Linked DNA regions of Homo sapiens: all the other regions are linked to region 2. Evidence: promoter capture Hi-C in 16 types of primary human blood cells and fetal thymus (Javierre and others, 2016). All regions are on one chromosome and are shown on one strand. The core of a region is centred on a gene start or on the middle of the fragment in contact, and the rest is flanking DNA. Distances in the headings are between cores, read along the strand shown. Region 1 overlaps ATXN7 (ataxin 7). Region 2 holds the start of PSMD6 (proteasome 26S subunit, non-ATPase 6). Region 3 overlaps ATXN7 (ataxin 7).

Region 1 (3,436 bases), core at 714-3,213, 38 kb after region 2:
ACAAAACAAAACAAATAAGCCTAATACTATTGCTAACAGAAGATAAAGTTGAATGTACAAGTGTGAACTGGTCAGAGTTGGGCAAATCTTATTGGCAGTTGAGTCCAATCACTCAAGTTAAACCTGACCATTCCATACTGCTGAGATCTCAGTCTGTAAAAATGCAAGGAGATGCTAATCCTGAGGAGTGGATGAGTTTACATGAGCTACAGTGGCCCCTAATCACATATCCATAAACATAAATGAATTCACCCACGTTTCCTTCTTTTATATTACAAAATATTGTAAATGTGTGTGTGCATGCCCCTACACATAATACAAATGTATTGGCATAGTTGGTACAACTTTAGGGACTTAAAAAGGGAATTATGCTTCTAACTACCATTTTCGGTTGAATAACACAACCCACCTCCTTACGAGACACACTGCAAACTATGTCTACCTAAATAATCTAACCTGGCACAGACAAATGTGTTTAGCTTTTTACATTTTTACTTGATTTTCTTTAATATGGAAAATATCCCTAAGAAAGTAACCTAAAGACCAGGAACTTTGTTTTGTTTGTGTTGTACCAGCATCTAGAAGAGTACCTGACGCTCAAATGCTTCAAACAAAAAGTTTATAAAAATAATGGCCCTCCAACGTGTGTTGAAAGAACGAATGAACATATAATATTACTGGTCCACCTGCCTGTCTCTCCAAGCAGATGTATAAACCTCTCCTCAGCTTGAATGTTCCCGGTGCCTAGCACAGTACAGCCAAATGAAGAAAGCAGGCAGATACATTTTCCCAGCTCAGTTTGAAGCCTAAGTAGGGTTTCCACTGAGCTGTGAAGAACATTCCAAACAGAAATCCGATAGGGGTTGCCCAAGGCTCACAGGATAAAGACTGACTGCATAACTAGGCTCCGGAACCCTGCACACTCTAAGACCCTTGCTTACTGCTCCCTGCTCCTTTGGTCCCGCGTACCTCTTCTTCCCTCTTTCTGTTCAGCCACCTGGCTGGCTTTAAGGTTCTAAGGAATTTGCTCTGCCCCTGTCACAGAGCCTTCACACATATTGTTTCCTCCACCTCTCCTACCTCTCCCATCCCTCTCAAGCCCAGATAAATCATCACATTGATTTCAGCCCAATGTTCCTATGGCAAGAAAGCCTTCCCTGGAAAAACTTCATTTTTGCAGGCTTTCATAATGTAGTCCTCTCATCTTTTTATAACTCATCAGTGGTAATTTTACAGTTATTTTGGTGATTAATACTCTCCATCTCTTTCATTAGACTGTAAGCACCACAAGCATAGGGAACACGTGGTTATTGTGCTAAACCCTTTATTCCCTGCGACCTAGAAAGAGTGAGGCCTGTGCTCACAGATGTACGTAATAAAAAGTTCTACAATGAGTGAATGGACAAAGGCTACAGGAGTCACAAATCTCTCCGCGTGGAAGGCACAGAGGACTTTCGACGGGATATTAGACAGATGAAGAAGTGAGGAGGGGCAGTGAGGATGGGAGACAGACAACAGAGAATGAGTAATGGGAATGAACAGCAGCAAATCCCCTGACGGTGAAGAGAACAGATAACGTTCTAAGTCTAAGACAGAAGAGACCTGGCAGCAACTTGGGAAACACTCAGGGTAGGGACATGCAGGCATGTTTAGCCCTACCAAGCTTAATAGATTCAGACCAACGTGAAGGCAAGGAAAAGGAAAAGAACTGACAAAACAATGAAAAAAAGTCAAGTCATCCTGTAAAAGGGCAGGCCTGGTGGATGCTGCATTTTCTGCCAGTTCTATGCTGATCTCATGACAAGCTGGGTCTCAAGACTTATTAATGCAATGACAGGCTTAGCCCAATGCCACGGAGAGTAATGACACCCTTAAAGAAGGACGACAAGGGGAGCATATATCATTTGAAAAGGAAGATGTGAGAAAAATGCAGACCCATTCAAAGTCACTCCACCTAGCAATAAAGGCACAGGAAGAATGCCAGTCAAGCTCCTTGAAGATTTTGAGTTGAAAAAAAACTTTTGGCAACCTCACTTCTGGGTAGTTATCCAAAATAACTGAAATCAGAATCTCAAAGAGCTATTAGAACTCCTATGTTCACTGAAGTATTATTTATAATAGACAAGATGTAGAAACAATATAAATGTCTGTCAACAGGTGACTGGATGAAGACAACATAGTATATACATACACTGGAATACTATTCAGCCCTTAAAAAGAAGGAAATTCTGCAATATGCTACAACAAGTATGAGGTAAGCTTGAAGACATTATACTAAGATAAATAACCCAGTCACATAATGACTAAACACCGCATGATTCCACTTATATGAGATCTATAATCAAACTCACAGAATCAACAACTAGAGTGGTGGCTGCCAGCGGCTGAAGGGAGAGCGAAATAAGGAGTTACTAATCAATGAGCATAAAGTTTCAGTTATAGCAAGATGAACAAGTTCTAGACATCTGCTGTATAATATTCTTTCACAGTCAACAATACTGTCTTGCACACTTAAAGGTGTGGTTCCCTGCCACGCTTTGTAAATGACTGAAAAAGAACATCTTGGGTTTGAAAAAAGCAAACCTCATTGCCCACAGGTACTGTATTACTGAGAAATCCATGTTACTGAGAGTCAGGTAGGCAGGAAGAGCGCAGAAGGAGAATGGCAAGTTGTGATCATGATGTGGACAGGGCTGAGGCATGCTTTCACACATTCTCTTAGGGACAGCTGAAACTGACATAATTCTACAGAACTCAGGTGGCTATCTTCATACACCACCACCACTACACCACTGTGTGTCCAATTAGTACCCTATACAAAAAAAAAGCAGTTTGTTTTATGAGAGTTTTTAACCTAGAAATCCAAGGATGGGCTTGGGGTGGGGGTGTCCATTAATCCAAGATAGAAAAATTCAGAATGTGTATGTGTATGCACTATTTTATTCTCGGAAGATGGACCGTGGTTTTTTTTTTTTAAAAATGAGATATTTAAAGGTACTCTTGACCAACCCTTTTCCCCAAAAAGGTTCTGAACCACTGTTGTAAGACAAAATCTATATACTAAAATTAAATTAGAAGCTTAAAGTAAGAACCACTTAAAAATTTCCCACTCCAGAAGACTGTAACATGCCTCCACTGGCTGGGGCATGGGACAGGGCCTGAAGTCCTTTATTCAAATACACTTTAATAAAATTTAAAGTAAAACACTAACAATTTTATTAATTTTTAGAAGAAAATGCTAACTTTTATCATTTTTACTTCCTCCCTCTAAGGTTTTAAAATTACATACTTCAAAGCAGTGACTCTGAATGCTTCTTGAACCTATCTGGGGGGTAGCTGGGGACACCCTCCAGAGAAATGCACATCAACATACAAGCTCATTTATGTAGAGGTGTTCACTGATGACCTGAAGCCACCCCACATCAATAACCCACAC
Region 2 (3,370 bases), core at 285-2,784:
GCTTTGTGCTCTTCACTGCTGAGTCCTTGAGGCCTAAGACAGTGCCTGGTACTTTGTAACCATGCAATCATGTTTGTTGAATGACTAAATGAAAGAATTTTAGAAAGTTTTTTACCAAAAGTTTAGCAGTGGTGGAGAGCTATTTAATAGTATTTTTTTTTTACTCTTCATATTTTCTCTATCATTTGAGTTGTCTTCAAAATGCTTGTTTCATTTTTATAGAAACAAATAATAGATTTAAATTATGTGATGATGCCTACTGCCTGTGAGATGTGGCAGTCTCACCTGTTTCAGCAGCTGTGTAAACTGGTTCAGCTCTTTTGGAAAACCATTTAACATTAAATATCCCCAAGTCACAAAATCCTTCTTCCCTTTGTCCGTTATTCCTTCATGGGATTTTATGCTAAGGAAAAAGATGCAAAACATGAAGTGATCTAGACATCCAAAGTCTTCATCCAAGTTTTTATATTAGGTAAGTAAAAACTCTGGTCAACCTAAAGACACCTCTAACAGAGGGAAGAGTGAAAGTAAATTATGGTAAATCCATTAGATGGAATTTAGGCCAGGCATGGTGGCCCACACCTGTAATCCCAGCACTTTGGACGACTGAGGCGGGGGAATCACTTGAGGTCAGAAGGTCAAGACCAGCCTGGCCAACATGGTGAAACCCCGTCTCTACTAAAAATACAAAAATTAGCCCGGCATGGTGGTGCAGGCCTGTAATCCCAGCTACTTGGGAGGCTGAGGCAGGAGAATCGATTGAAGCTGGGAGGCAGAGGTTGCAGTGAGCCAAGATTGTGCCACTGCACTCCAGCCTGGGTGACAGGGCAAGACTCCGTTTCAAAAAAAAAAGGAATTTAATGTAAAGATTACCACCTCTGAAGATCTGTAGCAATGTGAACAAAAGGAAGCTGAAAATGCAGGCATGTAATGATTTAATTTATGTGTAAACAAAACGATGATGCTGTTGTACTATGACGTAGAATCCTGGGTGCAGTTTTTTTTTCTTCTTAAAACCGCAGAAAGAATGTGGATTTTAGAGTTCTAGATAGGGGTTTTCATTTAGGCCTTGCGACATGGCTGTTACATGACCTTGGTTGGTCTGTTTCCCTAACCTCTTTGTGCCTCATTTGTCTTACCTACTAAATAGGCTAATAGTACTACCTCGCAGCATGAAGATGATTTTAATAAGATGAATGAGAGTAACGACTCGACAAACTATGGTGATTGTTTTTATTAATGCTGTTATTACATTTTCAGTTTTCAAAAAATTTTAAGCTCCCATCAGTTACAAACGGAAAGTAAAATAGCTAAAAAGGGAGTGAGAAAGAGATTCAAGAAATTGGGCTTTTGAGTTGGGCTGCACCCACTCTGGGACTCCGCAGGGGGCCTTGAGGGTGGAAAAGCCCCCGTGACCACACAGGGGCGCAGGCGCCCAGGCCGGGTGAGGCGTTCCCGGAGGTGTCCAGCAGAGGACGCTGCCGGCGGAGACGGGACCGGAAGCCGGGCCGCAGGCGGCCGGGCGTATTCGCCGACTCCTCCCGCTTCCGCTGCCGCAGCCGGTCGTAACCAAGTTGTGTCCTGTCAGCCGCTGTCCCCTTCGCCGCGATGCCGCTGGAGAACCTGGAGGAGGAGGGTCTGCCCAAGAACCCCGACTTGCGTATCGCGCAGCTGCGCTTCCTGCTCAGCCTGCCCGAGCACCGCGGAGACGCTGCCGTGCGCGACGAGCTGATGGCGGCCGTCCGCGATAACAGTGAGGCCCGCACGAGCGCCGAGTCAGCGGCCTAGGCCTGGGCCGTCCCCGCGTTCCGGAGCCTGCGGGGACTTTTTTTGATGGAGCTCCAGACCCCTCTGACGGGGTCTCAGAGACCAGGCCTGGCTTCTCCGGCCCTTAGGGTTTTGCTTTGGTTTGGGGATACCCTGGGGGACCTCGACTTGCCTCAGCGGGGTCTGCATCTCTCTGTGCCGCCTTCCCCTGTAAGGGCAGCTTGGGGGAGAATCGTGAGGCATTAATATTTACCCCTGTGCTAGGCACAGAGTAAAGGCCCCGTGACTTTCTGTCAGTGGGGACTGCTCCCGGGCGCGGGGTATTCCTGTGGGAGAGTTCAGCTTGCCTGTGGAAGGGAAATTTGGGTTCGGTTCTTTCTGGCCCTTCTGTAGTGAATGTGTATGTTTGAACATATGTATGTGAGTATGTGTGTATAAAAAGTCTTTCCCTGTTTGAAGACTTTTGGAACAGAATCCGGCAAGAGCAAACCGAGGATTGCCCTCCCTCCAGCCCTAGTAGAGGTTGGCATTGCCAGGATTGGCCGTCACGCAAACCTCCCACCAGCATACGTTTATGTTTTGCCAAGCCGATTATTAAGCGCCATCGCATGCCTTCCTGTTAGTGGGGAAGAGACTGGTGGATGACTTGTGGCGGGGCGGGGGGTGAAATACGTGGGCAGACTTTGACTTGAGGGCACAAGTGTCCCCACTCACACATCCCTCTTTTTGCATGTTAGACATGGCTCCTTACTATGAAGCCTTGTGCAAATCCCTCGACTGGCAGATAGACGTGGACCTACTCAATAAAATGAAGAAGGCAAATGAAGATGAGTTGAAGCGTTTGGATGAGGAGCTGGAAGATGCAGAGAAGAATCTAGGAGAGAGCGAAATTCGCGATGCAATGATGGCAAAGGCCGAGTACCTCTGCCGGATAGGTGACAAAGTGAGTAGAGATGGTTTTCCCTCTCTGTAGTTAGTATAGGCTAAAATTGGAGACTATTCCAGGTAATCGTTTCTCATTAAAAAAATTAACTTCGTTTTAGAAAAAGTATAAAGGTAATCATGCTTGCTTGTACTGGTGAATCAATGTAAAGATGAAAAAGTCGTCTCCATGAAATGCCTTGTCATTTCCCCAAACAGCAGCTAGGGCTGTATTCTTCCCCATTTCACCCCATGCCGATAAAAACGTAAGTGTACATCTAGAGAATTTTATTTACTGCTTTTACAAAATTGGGATCATTTTCAGCAGTTTTCTCACTTGGTTGGGAAGCACTGGTTCTGGTGTCTTTAGTACTTTACACGAGTAATACTTAGCAGAAACTAAGAAACAGTATAGTAAATGCTGAAGTTCTGTTATCTTTCTTTACTCTGTACCTGCCCAGGGATAGGCTTTTCAGTTCTTTTATTGTGCATTTATGCAAACTTTTTGGTAATTTTTTTTTTTTTTTTGAGACGGAGTTTCACTCTTGCCACCCAGGCTGGAGTACAATGGAGTGATCTTGGCTCACTGCAACCTCCACCTGCTGGGTTCAATCGATTCTCCTCCCTCAGCCTCCCGAGTAGTTGAGATTACAGGCGTGCGCCACCACACCCAGCTAATTTT
Region 3 (3,492 bases), core at 732-3,231, 61 kb after region 2:
AGACGCCCGAGAAACTGCCTATAATTGTTTAAATATTTTTTAAAATAATCACTCGTTTTGAAAGATCTCTTTGTCTCATATTATTAAGTATTACTAGACTTGTGGTTGTTTGAGGAATTTATTTCAAATTAAAATTAATCATACGTGTGTGTGTGTGTGTGTGTGTGTGTGTGTGTGTGTTTATGTGTCTAAGGAACATTGTAAGAGGCTTTAGAAAATTAAATGGAAGCTTAGAAAAATAAATACAACACCTACTCCTTTGGAGATAACTCTCATAGTGGCTGGTAGAGATATAAAGCATTACAGCCTTTTTGGAAAGCAATCCAGCAGCAGCTATTAACACTGCAAATAACTAGTCTTTTGTGACCCAGGAATCCCTTCCTGAGACTCTATCCCACAGAAACTAAACCACCAGTAATTAAGTATGTATGTACCAGAGTGGGTACTGCTGTTTGGTTCACACAGACAAAAAGCAAGAAACAAAATGAATGTCCATAGAGGGCCTGGCAGAGGAAGCTACAGCACAGCCACACTTTAGAGCAGTATGCAACCATTAAAAAGAGGGGATTAGTGTTATCCAGGGCTGTGAATGGATTTACATGAGGTATTGTTGAGTAGAAAAGGAGCAGAAGTGTGCATAATAGGATCCACTTTTTTGTAAAACTATCACCAAAAGCCCCTACTAATAAAATACGTGATTCTATGTGCCTGGATAGAGTTAGAAGCATGAGAAAAATATACAAGGATGCATATTAAGTTACATACTAAGAATGCAGCATGTATGATTTATAGCGTAGCATGGACTGCTACAGTTAGAGAAGGCAGGTAAGTTGAAAGAGCCAATGAAATAAGAAAAAGGCTGCACTGAAAATAGTTGAGATGATTACATTTGTGTATTTATATAAAAATACGTTATAGGTGTATATATTTCATATATTCATATGCCAATCAAAAAATCTATAAAGAAACAGGTCTAAAAAATTTGTGTTACAAAAATGCACTGTGAAGGTAGCTAAGAAAAATTAAATACAAAATTCTGGCCGAGTGTGGTGGTTCACACCTGTAATCCCAGCACTTCAGGAGGCAGAGGCAGGTGGATTGCTTCAGCCCAGGAGTTTGAGACCAGCCTGGGCAACATGGTGAAACCCTGCCTCTACAAAAAATACAAAAATTAGCTAGGTGTGGTGGCGTGTGCCTGTAGTCCCAGGTACTGGAAGGGCTGAGGTGGAAGGATTGCTTGAGCCCGGGAGGTGGGGGTTACAGTGAGCCAAGATCACGCCACTGCACTCTAGCCTGGGCAAGAGAGTGAGAATCTGTCTTGAAGAAGAAAAAAAAAAAAAAAAAAGAAATACAAAATTCTGGTATTACATCAAACAAGTGTATCTTGATTATTGTCACTCTCTTAATTTGTTTGGCTAAGCAGACTGAGACTCAAGTAGCACAACAGACCACAGTTGAATCACCCAGAAAAAGGCCTATTAGCCACTTTGGCAAAATAACATCTTAACTCTCTAAAGCTCACTACAAATCTTCAGTATTAGAAGTTGTAGGCCAGGCATGGTGGTTCACGCCTATAATCCCAGCACTTTGGGAGGCTGAGGCAGGCAGATGACTTGAGGTCAGGAGTTCAAGACCAGCCTGGCCAACATGGCGAAATTCTGTCTCTACTAAAAATGCACAAATTAGCTGGGTGTGGTGGTGCATGCCTGTAGTCCCAGTTACTCGGGAGGCTGAGGCACGAGAATCACTTGAACCTGGGAGATGGAGGCTGCAGTGAGCTGAGATTGCACCACTGTACTCCATCCTGAGCGAGACAGTGGGACTCTGTCTCAAAAAAACAAAACAGAAGTTCTAACGACCTTTTTAATAAATATATCAAGCATAAGAGGCAACGAAACAAATTTCATTCCAAAGTTTATTTGTGACCTGAAGAGAATACAAACCAAGAACTCTATATTGTGTGATCAGGGGCTATTTGTATTTTATTTTAAATGGAAATAATTATCTGTTCTTCTTTTTTAACATTCAAATGCACAAGATGAAAAGGTATAAAATTACTTTGAAGTAAACCTCAAGAGTGGGATTTCTACATACAAAATGTGGGATGAGGGAAATAGCTAAATTTAGCTATTGGGCCCCTCCCAAACCAGTCTGTTTTATGGACTTGGACTAGTACATACATCAGAGGAATTATTCCAGTCAGGTAGTAGGTACCACAGCATTAAGAAGTGATAAAAACTCCCTCTTCTGGTCATATGTAAGATCACAGCTTAGTGGGGTTGAAATCGCAGGTGTGTTTATCTTAGTCATCGTACAAATTAGTCTTGTGAAATGACTGTCAGGAAAAGTACTTTTTAGAAAATATAAATAAAATATGGATTTATATCCCGAAATATCTCCATTAAAGCTGAAGCATGGCAATCCTATAATAGCTAATGATTTCTACATGTAGCAGGCAAGTCAAGAGTGACACTGGTGAATATCAACAATTCATATATATATTAAATAATAATTTCTTACTTAATTTTTATTAAGCCTTTTTAAAAAAAATTTCCAACTGTTTTTTCCTCTACTTTATTAAGGTATAAATGACAAATAAAAGTTCTATATATTTACAGTACAGTGTAATGTTTTGATCCATATACACATTATAAACAATTTATATATATATAAAGATAGATATTGCCAGAAACTCACATTTTCACTGCCTTATTATTGTGGCAACCCAAATCAGAACTGCTGAAGTAGTTCATCAAATCACAGTAGTACAAACCTGGAGGGCACTGTGACCAGGTTCCATGCGGAGAATCAATATGCTAAAATACTGACAGACATTCCCAAAGAAGGACGGTCCTTAGAGCACTGTATACAGTAATGCAACACTGAAGATCTAAGTGTCCATCAACAGGAGTCAGGTTAAGTGAAAATACATTAATAAAGTGGAATAACAGGCAGTCCTTAAAAAGATTATAGCAGAACAATATGTATTAACATGAAAAAATATTTTAGATAGATTATTAAGTTAAAAATGTAAATTCACACTGAATCTACTTTTTTTTATGTGAGGGGAAAAAATACATTGGTAAATATTACTTTGTCCAGGTTCTAGGAACCCTCCAAGAGTACATGTCAAACTGTACCCCTGAAAAGTAAGATGAAGGAGCTTTCTTCAGTCTGATTGCATACTTATCCTCTGGTTGTTTAATTTCTTTTACAATGTATTTTATTTTAATAATTAAAAACAAATTGAAAGGCAGTGGTTTTTGTTAGTCAATAAATTTTCACAATTACCCAATGAATACATGAGAAGTCCCAGGAAAGTGCACACAGTATCTTTTGTTTCCTGGCTTGTATGACTAGATTACAGAAACATTAAAAAACTGAAAAGAAAAAATGACCCCCCACCCCCAACTTGGCATCACTGCAATAATTATTTTCTTCTATAATCTTTAGAAAATGCCTAAAGACTTAATATAATACATCAACACTTTT

The links. The method cuts DNA at HindIII sites, captures the fragments that hold promoters and counts their contacts. A CHiCAGO score of 5 or more calls a contact.
Region 1: a contact is called between a fragment that was not itself captured here and the fragment with the promoter of PSMD6 in region 2, in 1 of 17 cell types (total CD8 T cells). The highest score is 5.1, in total CD8 T cells.
Region 3: a contact is called between a fragment that was not itself captured here and the fragment with the promoter of PSMD6 in region 2, in 1 of 17 cell types (naive CD4 T cells). The highest score is 5.2, in naive CD4 T cells.

The regions. Positions count from the first base shown.
Region 1 is chr3:63,983,750-63,987,185 of GRCh38, reverse strand. The region is part of intron 8 of ATXN7 (ataxin 7); the gene reads right to left. Among named protein-coding and RNA genes, the nearest start is that of PSMD6-AS2, 19 kb to the left of the region's middle. The HindIII fragment of the contact is 596 bases long and covers 1,666-2,261 here.
Region 2 is chr3:64,021,658-64,025,027 of GRCh38, reverse strand. It overlaps PSMD6 (proteasome 26S subunit, non-ATPase 6), which reads left to right and starts at 1,534. Exons shown (of 8, transcript NM_014814.3): 1 at 1,534-1,753; 2 at 2,505-2,710. The coding sequence starts at 1,609. It overlaps LOC105377121 (a long non-coding RNA gene), which reads right to left and starts at 953. Exons shown (of 3, transcript XR_940906.3): 1 at 877-953; 2 at 286-403. RefSeq lists a silencer at 1,326-1,425 and enhancers at 988-1,609, 1,576-1,925, 1,610-2,232. The HindIII fragment of the contact is 6,204 bases long and covers 1-3,370 here.
Region 3 is chr3:63,960,762-63,964,253 of GRCh38, reverse strand. All of the region lies in intron 5 of ATXN7 (ataxin 7), which reads right to left. Among named protein-coding and RNA genes, the nearest start is that of PSMD6-AS2, 42 kb to the left of the region's middle. RefSeq lists an enhancer at 3,342-3,492. The HindIII fragment of the contact is 3,500 bases long and covers 232-3,492 here.